2 separate regions of the Homo sapiens genome follow, and region 2 is linked to region 1. Evidence: promoter capture Hi-C in 16 types of primary human blood cells and fetal thymus (Javierre and others, 2016). All regions are on one chromosome and are shown on one strand. Each heading gives the region's core, a stretch centred on a gene start or on the middle of the fragment in contact. The rest is flanking DNA. Distances are from core to core; before and after follow the strand shown. Region 1 holds the start of TRH (thyrotropin releasing hormone). Region 2 overlaps IFT122 (intraflagellar transport 122).

The links. Contacts are between HindIII fragments. The CHiCAGO score rates a contact against its expected background, and 5 or more counts as called.
Region 2: a contact is called between a fragment that was not itself captured here and the fragment with the promoter of TRH in region 1, in 1 of 17 cell types (neutrophils). The highest score is 7.5, in neutrophils.

The regions. Positions count from the first base shown.
Region 1 is chr3:129,972,695-129,976,711 of GRCh38, reverse strand. It overlaps TRH (thyrotropin releasing hormone), which reads right to left and starts at 1,992. Exons shown (of 3, transcript NM_007117.5): 1 at 1,889-1,992; 2 at 685-903; 3 at 1-13. The coding sequence starts at 895. It also overlaps the pseudogene LOC124906284. The HindIII fragment of the contact is 1,305 bases long and covers 1,467-2,771 here.
Region 2 is chr3:129,457,200-129,461,514 of GRCh38, reverse strand. It overlaps IFT122 (intraflagellar transport 122), which reads right to left. Exons shown (of 30, transcript NM_052989.3): 4 at 2,838-2,916; 5 at 211-287. Among named protein-coding and RNA genes, the nearest start is that of IFT122, 19 kb to the right of the region's middle. The HindIII fragment of the contact is 7,734 bases long and covers 1-4,315 here.

The DNA of each region.
Region 1 (4,017 bases), core at 743-3,242:
AAGATCTGGGACGCTGGGGAAGGAAAGAGGTCAGTGAGGGGCCCCTGACCCATGTAATAGGCAGGCGCCTGAGTGCCCACTCCTGCTTTTCTCCCAGGCAGGGTACATTTCCTGCAGCTCCCACTCAGAGGCATGGTCTTGCACCTGCCCCTCAGGCCTCACAGATACACACATTCACACAATAGTCAAAGGCATTGCCTCTGGGTTCCAATCCCAGCTCTGGCGCTCCCTAGTTGTCTGACCATAAGCGACTCAATTGATCTCTGGGAGCCTCAGTTTTCTTCTGTGTAAAATCGTAATAACAGTACCTAACTAAGAGGTTGTTAGGAAGATCAAACAGTGTGATAAGGTGTTTGAAGTGCTTGGAATAGTGTCTGGCACAGAAGTGCCTAGACAGTAGTAATTCAAACTGTCACACACAAAGAAACTCTCTCCCTAGCACACAGAAGCTTCCCCACCCAGGGCCTGCTCTCTGTGAAATATTCCCAGCATTGAGACAGGGGAGGAATCTGACCCCGAGGAATGGTCAACTCCAGATCCCGCCTAGGCGCAGCCAGGGAGGGTTTCTGAGCTTCCGAAAGGCAGAAGGCTAGCTGACCAAGCCTCCCCTCCCCTTTGCCGGCAGGTTTCCACGGCTCTCCCAATAGCCTAGCCCCACAGCCCCCAACAGCCCCATCCACTCACCGGAGTGCTCACCCTGGTCCCCTTGCAGCCGCTGGATGTTTTCCCGGAGGAAGAGGAGGCGCTCCACCTGGCGCAGGAAGTCATCCAGGCCCGGATGCTCCGCGGCCGTCACTGCCTCCTGCTGGGCCGCCTCTGGCTGAGCACGGCCGCCGGGGACACCGGTCAGGTTCAGGGTCAAAGCCAGAGCGAGCAGCAACCAAGGGCCGGGCATCGCGGCGTCTGGGTTAGGGGACAGAGGGAGCCTGAGCGCACCGAATCACAGCACATCCCGCTCCATCTCCCCCGACGCCCGCCAGAAACAAACCACGCACAGTTCAACCGCCCTCCCAGAAGCAGGACCACTGCCCCTCGTGCAGGGGCGGGAGCAGCGGCGGGTTCGCCCCGGCTCTGCGTCCACACCTGTCACCTCTAGGCGTCCTCGCCCCCACGGGTGCCTGTAGTGCCTGCGCCCAGTTCTGCTTGCGCAAGGCAGGAGGCCGTAGGAACCCCATCGCCAGCGCCACCGCCACCCTTCAATGTGACGCGGAACTGGGGAAGCCAACGCTGGGACTGCCTCGCCGGGAGTGCAACCATTGAGATTGCAGCGCCAGGCACAGCCGCGACGCTAACGGTTGCGTCCCCGCCAAGACTCCCCCAAAGGTCCCCATCGCCACGTTCTAACTCCAAGCTCCGTGGCCGACGTCCTCATTCCAACGCGAAGATCCCATTTCTATCGCTAAGATTCAGGTTCTAAAGCTCAAAGTCTATTTGCAAAGCTAAGATTCTATTTCTAATGCTAAGCTTTCATGACTAAGCCAGGAATCTGATTCTAACGCTAAAATCCTAACTTCAACGCTAAAATTCTATTTCTAGCGTTGAGATTGGGATTCGAACTCCCAGGTTCTCAGGCCGACGCCCTGAATACCCAGCTCTGTCCGGCGGCACCCAGGCAGGGGGTGCCGCGGAGCTCCCACCCCGCGCTGCGGACTCTGGCGACCTGAGTGCCCAGCAGCGAGAGCCTCCGATGTGCCCGCGCCGTGCCTCCCGTCGGGTCCCCGGCCTGCGCTCGGGGAGGACCCGGGGGTGCGAGCACAGCGCCCGCCTGTGCACCGGCCCTGTTCTCCAGGAAGCTCTCAGAGAACCGAAGGTGAGGGCGGGCCGAGAGGGCTCCCTTTCCAGTGCTCCCGGACACCGTCTGCGGAAGGAGAGGGGTTGGGGCGGTTACCTGCCAGGAGTGGGCTCCACAGGATGGGTCCGGGATCCGGGGACTCGGGATCCGCAGTCGGCAGGTCAGGAGTCTGCAGCGCTGAGGACCCCGGGCGCCTGCCGAGCCCTCTTCAGATGGGCCGCCGCTTATATCTGCGCCAGGCGGCGGCTCGAGTGAGGTCAGCGGGGAGGGGTCGCGGCCGCCGGGAAGGGGCGCTGACGGCAGCCGGCCCCGCGGGACCCCGCCCGCCTGCTCCTCCGGAAATCTGGGGCGGGGACGGTGGGGACCGGAGCCGGGGCGCGGAGGCACTGGCCGCAGGATGGGGCGCCGGCGCGGGGTCGTTTCTGCACCACCTCTGGAGATCTGTTGACGAGAACACGCGTGTAGGGGGCAAAGGGAGGGACAGAGAGATTGAGAGAAGCGCACGATTAAACACAGGCGCACGAGAGAGCTAGAGGGCGAGACAAAGACCGAGATCCACACGGAGACGACGGAGAAACACAGGGCAGACACACACGAAAGGGACACGGCCGCAGAACCAATGTAGAACGCAGACGGGCGAGAGTAGAGCAAGAGAGAGAGAGAGAGAAAGAGAGAGAGAGAGAGAATGGGGGGCAAGTGGGAGCGGAGCTCTACTTTTTTTTTTTTTTTTTTTAAAGAGATGGGATCTCGCTTTGTCCCCCAGACTGGAGTGCGGTGGCGCGATCACGGCTCACTGCAGCCTTGAACTCCTGGGCTCAAGTCATCCTCCTGCCTCAGACTCCTGCGTCTCTGGGATTACAGGCGTGAGCCACCCCGCAGGCTCCAGGGTGCTAATCTTAACTGTGTCATTCCTGGCTAGTGCCTCCGTTTCTCTGGGCCTCAGTTTTCTCCTCTGTGTAATAGGAGCCAGAGGAAAGCTTTCAGAATTCCAAAAGTGGCGGCCTGTAGGCTACAACCAGTTCATGGACAATTTTGATTGACTTCCACAGTGTTTTGAAAAAAATCTGAATAACCAACATTTTAAAACCAAGATAACTTAGAAAATTTTGGATTTATGGCTTCTCTTGAAAAAGAATGGGCCCCCATTTCCTCCTGTCAACAGCCAGGTGGAGCTGAGCCTGGCTGCTCTCGGCCACCACAGTCTCCACCACTCCCTAATGTCTTCCAATGTGTTGCCCCTGTCACTGAGGAGGGACATTCGAGTCTGCAGCCCCTGCACAGGAATCTATTGGAGTTCACCCAACTCTAGCAAAGGAGGGGAGGGGAAGCAGGGAGGAGAAACACATGGGTGCCAAGGAGCTTGCCCCCCGAGTCAGTTCCCAAAGTCCCAGATGTGGGACTGCCACATCTAGCCCTGGGGACTGCCTCCATCTTGAAACTTTTTTTTTAAAACAGGGTCTCATTCTGTCACCCAGGCTGGAGTGCAGTGGTGCAATCTGACCTCACTGTAGCCTTGACCTCCCCAGTTCAAGGGATCCTCCCACCTCAGCCTCCGAAGTAGCTGGGACTACAGCCAGGCACCATAATTTTTATGGCTATTTTTTATTATTATTTCTTGTAGAGATGGAGTCTTCTTATGCTGCCCAGGCTGGTCTCGAACTCCTAGACTCTAGCAATCCTCCTCCTTGGCCTCCCAAAGTCCTGGGATTACAGGCATGAGCCGCCACACCCGGCCCATCTCTAAACATTTAACAAGCACCCACTATGGTGTCAGACTCCTTGGTAGGTCCTGAAGGCCTAGAAGTGAATGAGGCTCAGCCCCAGCCCTCAAAAAGTTCAGAGGCAGTGAGGGAGACACTGCAAACATGAAACCTCAGGCTTGGTCTCCCAACTAGACTCCAGGATTTGAAGAAATGCCACCCTAGCTAAGATGAAATCAGATAGACCTGTTGTCTTTTGTACACAATGACGAGGGTATAAATTGATCCAATCTTTTGGGTGGCAATCTGAAAATTTAACACATATGTACCTTCCATGAGACAATTCTGTTTTTCAGAATTCATAATACAGATACTCCCACCTATATACATGAGAATGTATACCTCAGGGTATTCAGTGCAGCATGGTTTATACAAGCCAGAATTGGAACCAGCCTGGATGTCTGTCCATCAGGAGGGGGACACTTAAGTCAACTAAGACCCATCTAAAACTGTGGGGTACTATGC
Region 2 (4,315 bases), core at 197-2,696, 510 kb after region 1:
TCTGATGTCTTACCAGAGTAAAGGTCACCATTCACTGTCTTGGTTTCCACACAATTTAAAGAATAACTGTCAGCCTCCCCTCAGCCATTGAAGGTAGAGAAGTAGTATTAACTCTCTCAGGATAAAATCACCATATTCTGAATGCATTTTAGCATTTTTAGCCCAGATTTTCAGTTATTCCAGGACAGGACATCAGGAATCAGAACGTACCAAAGTCACTGGAGGAACAAGATGCCAGTTGATGAGTAATAGGATTGTAGGAGACACATTGTATAGCATCATTGTGCCTGGGAAGTAAACAACTGTAGATTACTATGCAGCAAACCACAAAGATTTCAGTGGCTACAACTGAAGATTTTAATAATGAGCCCACAGCCTCTGACTTTAGACCACATGCTCTTCTGCAAGTGACCAACAAAAAGCACAGAAATTAATTCTCCTACTCCTAAAGAATTAATTCTCCTTCTCCTCACCCACTGTTTTCTTATTTGTAGAGATGGGGACTCACTTTTGGCCAGGTTGGTTTTGAACGCTTGGCCTCAAGCAATCAATCCTCCCACCTTGGCCTTTAGGTGCTTTATCTGTGGCTGTTACTCTTACTGTTTTGTGGAGGCCCAGAAATGGAAGATGGAGGTGCAATGAAGACATCACAGACCAAGATCTGGAAACATGACAAATCCTTAGACAACAATGAAAGCTGAGCAAATCATGTACCATGCAAGGCGTCTCAACCCGTTTTAGTCCTTCACTTGTGGGTAATACTTTACTTACAACTTCACTCATTCATTCATTCCTTCAAAAATTGTTTGTTGATTTGTACACCCATGTTCATAGCAGCATTATTCATAATAGCTAAGAAGCAGAAGCAACACAAGTGTCCATCAACAGATGAATGGATAAAGAAAATGTGGTCTATATATACAATGGAATAATATTCAGACTTAAAAAGGAAGGAAGCTGAGCCCAGTGGCTCACACCTGTAATCCCAGCAGTTTGGGCGGCCAAGGGAGAAGGATTGCTTGAGCTCAGGAGTCATAGTGAGACCTCGTCTTCATAAAAAAAAATAATAATAAAGAAAAAAAAGGAAGTAAATTCTGACACATGCTACAACACAGAAAGTAAATTCTGACACATGCTACAACACAGATGAGCCTTGAGGACATTACGTGAAATGAAATAACTCAGCCACAAAAGAACAAACATTGTATGACTCTACTTATATGAGGTATGTAAAGCAGTCAAACTCAGAGAGACAGAAAGTAGAATGCTGGTTTTCAGGGGCTGGGGGTAGGAGAGAAGGGTGAGTAGGTATTTGAAGGATATAGAATTTTAGTTTAGCAGGATAAAAGAGTTTGGGAGATTGGTTGCACAACAATGTAAATGTATTTAACATTAAACTGTAAACTTAAAAAGTAGTTAATATGATAAATTTTATGTCATGTATATTTTACCACAATTGAAAAGAGGCCAGGTGCAGTGGCTCGTATCTGTAATCCCAGTACTTTGAGAGGACTGCTTGAGCCCAGGAGTTCAAGACCAGTACAGGCAACAAAGTGAAACCCTGTCTCTACCAAGAAAAAAAAAAATTTAAAAATTGGCCTGGTGTGGGGGTGTGCACCTGCAGTTCCAGCTATTTGGGAAGCTGAAGTAAGAGGATTATTTGAGCCTGGAAGGTTGTAGTTGCAGTGAGCTAGTTACCACTGCACTGTAGCCTGGGAGACAGAGCAAGACTGAAAAGAAAGGAAGGAAGGAAGGAAGGAAGGAAGGAAGAAGGGAGGGAGGGAGGGAAGGAAGGAAGGAAGGAAGGAAGGAAGGAAGGAAGGAAGGAAGAAGGGAGGGAGGGAGGGAAGGAAGGAAGGAAGAAGGGAGGGAGGGAGGGAAGGAAGGAAGGAAGGAAGGAAGGAAAGAAGGAAGGAAGGAAAATTGGTGAGTACCAATTATGGGCTAGGCATTGTATCAGGGACACAAGAGTGAGAAAAAAAAAATAGATGTAGTCAGGAGATCGAGACCATCCTAGCTAACATGGTGAAACCCCATCTCTACTAAAAATACAAAAAATTAGCCTGGCATGGTGGTGAGCGCCTATAGTCCCAGCTACTCGGGAGGCTGAGGCAGGAGAATGGCGTGAACCTGGGAGGTGGAGCTTGCGGTGAGCCGAGATCGTGCCACTGCACTCCAGCCTGGGCAACAGAGCAAGACTCTGTCTCAAAACAAAACAAAACAAAACAAAAAATAGATGCAGTATCTGTTCTTATGGAACTTACAGGCCGATGAGCAATACTGATCAGTCACCAGAATAAACCTAAAACTGCAATTGTGAGAAATGCCTCGAAAGAGACCTGTTCCAGTCTAGAGAGGCAGGAAAGTCCTTACAAAGAAACTGACATTTGAGTCTGAGATCTGCAGGGTAAATAGGGACCAACTAGTAGAGGAACAGGGGAAGAACACGGCAGATCCCCAATAGTAAGAGGAGGCCTGGAGCACACTGACCCCAAGTTTCTGACATTTGACACTGGGTGGATATAAGGCCATTCTCTGAGACAGGGACACTGGAAGATGACAGGTTGGGGGTGGGATAAAGTCTACAATGTCAGATGAACTGAGATGAGCTACATAAAAGCACCTAGCCCAGTGCTGGCCACGCCAGTAAGTGGCCAAGAAATATTCATTAACTTATTCACTACTCAACCTTCCTATACCAACCACACACACCCACAACTTAATTTCAAGTTCAATTTAAGAGAAAAAAGTTTTCTCCTACATCTTTTCTAAGAGGCTTTTGCTGCAATTATTCAATAAGCATCAAACTCATAATACTGTACACCTAAGTTACTTACGTGTACTTCAGAATGCCTTCCAGTTTTGATGTCCAGATAATAACGCTTTTGTCAGCTGATCCAGAAGCAAAGCGCTTGCCTAAAAGTGTTTGTAAAATGGAAAGTCTTACATTTATCTTAAACCAGCATTTCCCAGAGAGAATTCTTTAGAAAACTAGTTCTTTAAGGTACCTAGTAAGTGTTAGCTTCTTTCCTAGTTCTTATCAGTACTGGGAGGCAGGACCTTGGAGTCAGAATATTTGGGTTCCAAACCTGCTTTGTCTGACACTGAGTAAACAAAGATGTATTGGGAGCCTACTACATGTAGCTGTCATGTTCTATGCTAGGGATTAAGTAATGATTAAAACACACATGATCCCTACTTTCATAAAGTTCAGTCTAGTGTAAGAAGTACACATCAAATTAATCTAACACAAATACAACATGGTAAGACACGGATCCTATGAAAGAGAATAACTGGGGAACCTGATTTACTTTTTTACTTAAATTTTTATTTTTGACAAATAATAATTATATCTACTTATGAAGTACAATGTGGTATTTTATATACATACACATTGAAGAATGATTAAGCTAATTAACATATCCATCACTGCAGATACTTATTTTTTTATAGTGAGAACATTTAAAATCTATTCCTGGCCGGGAACAGTGGCTCACACCTGTAATCCCAGCACTTTGGAGGGCTGAGGCGGGTGGATCACGAGGTCAGGAGATCGAGACCATCCTGGCCAACACGGTGAAACCCCGTCTCTACTAAAAATACAAAAACAAAATTAGCCGGCCTGGTGACGGGCGCCTGTAGTCCCAGCTACTCTGGAGGCTGAGGTGGGAAAATGGAGTGAACCCAGGAGGTGGGGCTTGCAGTGAGCCGAGATCACGCCACTGCACTCCAGCCTGGGCAACAGAGCGAGACTCCATCTCAAAAAAAAAAAAAAAAAAAAACTATTCCTGTGCCAGTTTTGAAATATACGCTATTATTAACTATGGTCACCATGCTGTGCAATAGATCTCAAAAATGTACTCCTTTTGTCTGACTGAAACTACCCTTTGGTCAACATCTCCTGGGGGACCTAATTTAGATGAGGGAACATTTCTCTAAGGATGAGATCCTTCAGTGGAGACCTAAAGGATGAGCAGAGCTTAGCCAGATGTAGAGAGGAGACAGACCCATCCACATGGATGGAACAGATGTGCAAAGGCCCTGAAGCAGGAAAAGCCTGGCATGTCTGAGGGAATGAGCGGAGTCATCATGGAACGGAGGGAAGGGTGAGGTGGGTTGTGGAAGGATCTCTTGGGACCTCAGGGACACAGCAGAGGCCTTGCTCTTTATCCTAAAGCAATGGGAAGCCAAAGAAAGGTTTTAAGCAAAGAGTGATAGATCAGATTCGCATTTTCATACTACTTGGGCTTTATGAAGGAACAGACTGGAGAGAGGCAACATATAACAAGTAATTTGTTATTAATTACACTGTTCC